Regions from separate parts of the Homo sapiens genome. Here region 1 is linked to region 2. Evidence: promoter capture Hi-C in 16 types of primary human blood cells and fetal thymus (Javierre and others, 2016). All regions are on one chromosome and are shown on one strand. The core of a region is centred on a gene start or on the middle of the fragment in contact, and the rest is flanking DNA. Distances in the headings are between cores, read along the strand shown.

Region 1 (2,771 bases), core at 250-2,749, 170 kb after region 2:
AAAGCCAATGTTGTATGTTTTTGGTTTCTGTTACAGTATCTCACTTCTAGATATCACGTTCTGTTTCAGCTATCAATTACTGTGGAATAAGCCAATTTAAAATACAGTAGCTTAAAACAACAGCCATCTTACTATTCCTAATTCTATGGGTGAAATGGACTTGGGGTCAGTTTTTCTGCTCCATGCGATGTCAGCTGACTCTGCAGTCTTCTGAGGGCTCGACTGGGAAGAAAGACCCAGGAGAGCTCACTCACATGTCTGGCAGTTGGTACTGCATGTTGGCTGGGAGCTGAGCTAGGGCTGTTTACCAAAGACCTTTGTTTTCCCCCATATGGGCCTTGCAATGTAGTTATTTAGGCTTCCTCAAAATTTGATGCCTCAGTTCCAAGAATGAATGTTCCAAGAAGGAGGTAGAAAGGGTCAGCTTAACTCCTGAGTTCAAAATTCACTTCTGACATATTTTATCCATCAGAGCAAGGGGCTAGCCCAGATTCAAAGGAAAAGAAGTACACTCCACCTCTCATTAGAGGAATGGATGTACATACAGGCAGGGAGAGTTGATAGCATGGTGGTCATCTTTGGAGACGACCACAGCTGGAGGATGGTGACTGCCTCTGTTAACAAGGAGTCACATGGAACTGGGTGCTACTTTTTCTTGTGTAGAGAAGACAAATAGCTCATTTCTAGAACTTTTCAATTATTTTCATATTTTCCCTTTGATTCATCCTACTCACTGAAGGCATGTTAATATCTACCATTTGCACAATTGAAATTTACTCTGTATATACTGAGAATTCACTATAAAAATGCATTTGATATTTCCTTCAGTTGGGCAAGATTCTTGGTAAAAAGTTAAAAAAATAAGAATTGAGGCCCGAAACAAAGTCTGAATTTAGTATTGATGTGCAGTATAAACTGTTGCCAAAGCATTTTTCTTTTTTTTTTGAGATGGAGTCTCACTCTGTCACCCAGGATGGAGTGTAGTGGCACGATCTCAGCTGGCTCACTGCAAGCTCTTCCTCCCGGATTCAAGCAATTCTCCTGTCTCAGCCTCCCCAGTTGCTAGGACTAAAGGCGCACACCACCATGCCTGGCCAATTTTTGTATTTTTAGTAGAGATGGGGTTTCACCATGTTGGTCAGTCTGGTCTCGAACTCCTAACCTCAGGTGATCCACCTGCCTCAGCCTCCCAAGGTGCTGGGATTACAGGCATGAGCCACCGCGCTCGGCAGGTACTAGAATTTTATTGTTGCATTGTTATGTAATAGGAAAGGAGGAGAAGGAAGGGGAGGAGAAGCGGACTACTTAAACGATCTAAAAGTCCACCCATGAGAGAATGGATGACTACTCTGTAGTAAAACAAGCAAATAAATCATTATATAACAATAAAAATGAATTAGAGCTGCAGGTATCAACATACAAAATCTTACCAACAATGTAAGAATCTTACCAACACGTAAAGAATTAGAATTGCTAATTCTAATACTGTAGGATTAACCCTGGACATAAGATCAAAATATAAAAACATACATACATAACAATGCGACAATAAAATTCTAGTACCTGCCGGGCGCGGTGGCTCATGCCTGTAATCCCAGCACTTTGGAAGGCCGAGGTGGGCAGATCACCTGAAGTCGGGAGTTCGAGACCAGTCTGACCAACATGGAGAAACCCCGTCTCTACTAAAAATACAAAATTAGCCGGGCGTGGTGGCGCATGCCTGTAATCCCAGCTACTAGGTAGGCTGAGGCAGGAGAATCGCTTGAACCTGGGAGGCGGAGGTTGCAGTGAGCTGAGATCGCACCATTGCACTCCAGCCTGGGCAACAAGAACAAAACTCTATCTCAAAAAAGAAAAAAAAAAAACAAAAATGAACTGGGTGTGGTGGCAGGCACCTGTAATCCCAGCTCCTCGGGAGGCTGAGGCAAGGGAATCGCTTGAACCTGGCAGGCGGAGGTTGTAGTGAGCCGAGATCGCACCACTGCACTCCAGCCTGGGTGACAGAGTGAGATTCCATCTCAAAATAAATAAATAAATAAATAAAATAAAATACATTAAAATTCTAGTACCTGTCTCCTTGTGAAAATGTGTGAGATTTTTCTTTTCCAGGATCTAGCAGGAGTGGAACTACTGTGTTGTGGAGACTCAGATATCTCTTATGCACAATTCATAGCCTCTTGGCCTGACCTACTTTTCCAGTTATTATAGTGGCAACCGGCTCTGTGAGAGCTCCAAGTGACTTTCCCTTGGTGTTCCCTGATCTGCCCCACCCCCTTCTGTGATGCCTGTCTCTTGCTTTGGCCTGGGATGAGGCATGAAACACTACAGACCATGCTCAGTGTTCATGCATGCACAGCCATGAAGCATGGCGGAGGCAACGCCACACGGGGCAAACATTTGACCCTGGGACATAGGAGCCAGTGGATAAATTCTTCCGCTTTGCACCCCTGGACTAACTGTCCTGTAGTGCCATTTGCATGGCTTCTTGAAGGGTGATCTCACTAGATCCAGCCACGGGAGCACTCTCTGCAGGTGGCCCCTGCCTCATTTCCCTTCCCTCTGTATTCCTGAGTCTCACTCTCATCACTACTGAGAGACCACCTATCTCTGGGGTGAGTCCAGCAGAGTCTGCCAGGGTTCTCTTCCTGCCATTGTGAATGTCCCCACATCCAAGTGGAGTAGAAGGAATGTGGTGGACTTGTGGGGAAACTGCTTATGATCAGTTGAGCTTTTGTGGCGGAAGTTACTCACACTGTAAATTCTACACCCAG
Region 2 (2,700 bases), core at 75-2,574:
CGTTATGCATTTCCACAATCCAGGAGGGTACGCTTCTGGTACCCCCTTTACCTGCCAAGTTCCTCGCCGGTGTCGTAGTAATCATCCACGTTTTCCTGCCTGAACACGGTCATGATAAACTGTCACGCCTCACCAAAGCCCAGGGCACTTCAGCTCCGCTTCCCAGACCATCACCACCGCTCCTGCGCCTCCGTAGCCCCCTCATGCATCAGTCTCCAGTCCTTTTGAAGAAAAAAAAAAGGCAATAATAATAGTAAAATGGCAACCCCAAAAGGAAGTAGACCTCCCCGGCGCTAAGACCCCGCTCGCTGAAGACCGGGTCTCCGGAGCTGCCCCTCCTCGCGGGGTGGAGAGGAGCACCCTTTGTTAAAGCTGGGCGGCCAGGGACGCCCCCGACCCCTCAGCCCCGCGCGCGCGTGGGGCCGGGCACCACGGCACCCCGAGGTCGGCGTCCCCAAACGCTGGGCGGTCTGTTGGGATCAGAACCGGCTCCGGAAGTGACTGGCCTCCCCGCCTCCCCTTTCTCTGCACACATGCCCACCCAGCTTTCCCACCTCCAGGGACGCCGCGGAAGAATGAAGCCCTCGCCCAGACGGTACGCGCCTCACTGGGAGCAATCTCTCTCCAGCCTGCGGCAACGGTGGCACCCCCGCGCCACCTCTCGGCTCCCGCGCCTCTCCTAACACCGTGGCCACCCTCTCCCCTTCCCCGAGCGAGGCAGTCCCCAGAGCCACATTCCTGGCGACTCCCTCTCCGTTACCCGGCCGACCCGGCGTGCGGCCGCCCGGGGGAGCAAGGGAGGGAAGGGAGCGGCCCACCGAGGCGCAGCAGTTCGCTCCAGATCCTCGCGCCCCGACACAAAGCGCCTGGTCGGGCCGGCGCCACCTGTTCTCACCCGGCCCGCGGGGCTGGGGAAGCCTCCCGGCTGCGATCGCACTTCTCCCCGAAGCCAAGTTTCCCTCCGCCTTGGCCTTCCCAGTTGCTCGAGGCACTGCCCGGACAAACCCCACCGCGCCCTGGCTGGGAAAGCAAAAGCTGGCGCCGGGGGTCGGGGGGACCGGGGAGCCGCGCCTGGCTACTCACCCGGGCGCCTGGGAGCTCCCCCGGTCCCTCCGGAGCGCTGTCGGAGGCCGACCATAGGCGCCAGCGCCGGAGACTAGCCGGGGCGGCGGCGGGAACACAGCTAGGGAGTGAGTGGGGGGCGCAGATCCCTCCCAGGCGCCGGCCCCAGACCCTGCCGCTGCGAGTTGCCGAGTCCCCTCCGCGGAGGGAACAAAGTCCCCGGCGTTGGCTCGGTCCGGCTGTCCTCCTCACACTCCGAAGCAGCCTCTCGGCTCCTTGCCGCCTTTTGGGCGGAGGGCGGCCGGCAGGCGGCCAATGGGGACCCTGCAAGCGGGCTGGCGGCGCGGCCCACCCACCTCCGAGCTGCCCTGCCAGGCCGGCGCTGCGGGTTCTGCGCGGCGCTCGCTGCTCCTCCCAGCTCCGCGCTCCGGGCTCGCTGGCGCGCTCTACCGCGCACACCCCGCACACACCCACTCGCCCCACACCCACGCCGGCCGGGGAGCCAGTGCGTCCGCCCGGAACGCGGGCGCCCCACCTGTGACACATTGCTAAGCTGCCCTCTGACTGGGTTCTAGGGAAACACGGTTCTTCCGTCCCGAGATGTGTACTGGGATCCCAGCTTGTGCCGGGCACGGTGCTTGGTATGGGAAAATCACATAGAACAAAACAGATTTTTTTAAATCCCTGCCTTCCGGAAACCTGCATTCTGGTGGGACAGATAGATAATAAATATGTAAGCTAATTAATAAGGTAATTTTGGAGGATCAGTCCTACGTTTACCACGAAACAGGTTAATGGAATAGAGAATGGCAGGAAGGGAGCGTACCTCATTAGACTGGGTTCCTCTGCCGGACTGGTGTTGGAGCCGAGGCTTGAAGGCAAGAAGGTTTGCAATCTGAAGAAAGGGTTGAGGTCTCCGAGACCCAAAGAAGCAACAGAGACGCAGAGTTTATTTGCGCTATCCCATATGCTATTGGCTATTGTTGAGCTGAAATGTAGCTAGTCCCAAATTAATTGTGCTGTAAGTGTAAAATACACATTAGAGTCCAAGACAGTATGGATATGAGAATGAAAAATATCTCATGAATATTTTTATATTCATTACACTTTCAAATGATAGTATTTTGGATACGTTGGGTTAAACAAAATATATTATTAAAATTAATTTCACCTGTTTACTTTCTTTTTTTTGAGACGGAGTCTCACTCTGTCGCCAGGCTGGAGTGTAGTGGAGCGTGGCAACCTCCACCTCCAGGGTTCAAGTGATTCTCCTGCCTCGGCCTCCCCAGTAGCTAGGACTACAGTCGCGCGTCACCATGCCCAGCTAATTTTTGTATTTTTAGTAGAGACGGGGTTTCACCGTGTCGACCAGGATGGTCTCCATCTCTTGACCTCGTGATCCGCCCGCCTGGGCCTCCCAAAGTGCTGGGATTACAGGCGTGAGCCACCGCGCCCGGCCTCACCTGTTTACTTTTTAAAAGGTGGCCACTAGAAAATATAACAGTACCTATGTTGCTTGCATGAGATTTCTGAGGACTGTGCTGGTCTACACAAAGATCCCATATCCACTGGAGACCTCTATCCACTTTCTCTACTTCCCACCCCTTGCTCCCACCTAATGTTTGGGTGGAGACGAAG

What was found. Contacts are between HindIII fragments. The CHiCAGO score rates a contact against its expected background, and 5 or more counts as called.
Region 1: a contact is called between a fragment that was not itself captured here and the fragment with the promoter of DAPK1 in region 2, in 1 of 17 cell types (erythroblasts). The highest score is 6.3, in erythroblasts.

Annotation. Positions count from the first base shown.
Region 1 is chr9:87,327,970-87,330,740 of GRCh38, reverse strand. No RefSeq gene overlaps it. Among named protein-coding and RNA genes, the nearest start is that of DAPK1, 170 kb to the left of the region's middle. The HindIII fragment of the contact is 6,039 bases long and covers 1-2,771 here.
Region 2 is chr9:87,496,491-87,499,190 of GRCh38, reverse strand. It overlaps DAPK1 (death associated protein kinase 1), which reads right to left and starts at 1,324. Exons shown (of 26, transcript NM_004938.4): 1 at 1,084-1,324; 2 at 52-221. The coding sequence starts at 113. RefSeq lists silencers at 366-475, 686-875, 1,246-1,595, 1,616-1,675 and an enhancer at 218-975. The HindIII fragment of the contact is 10,886 bases long and covers 1-2,700 here.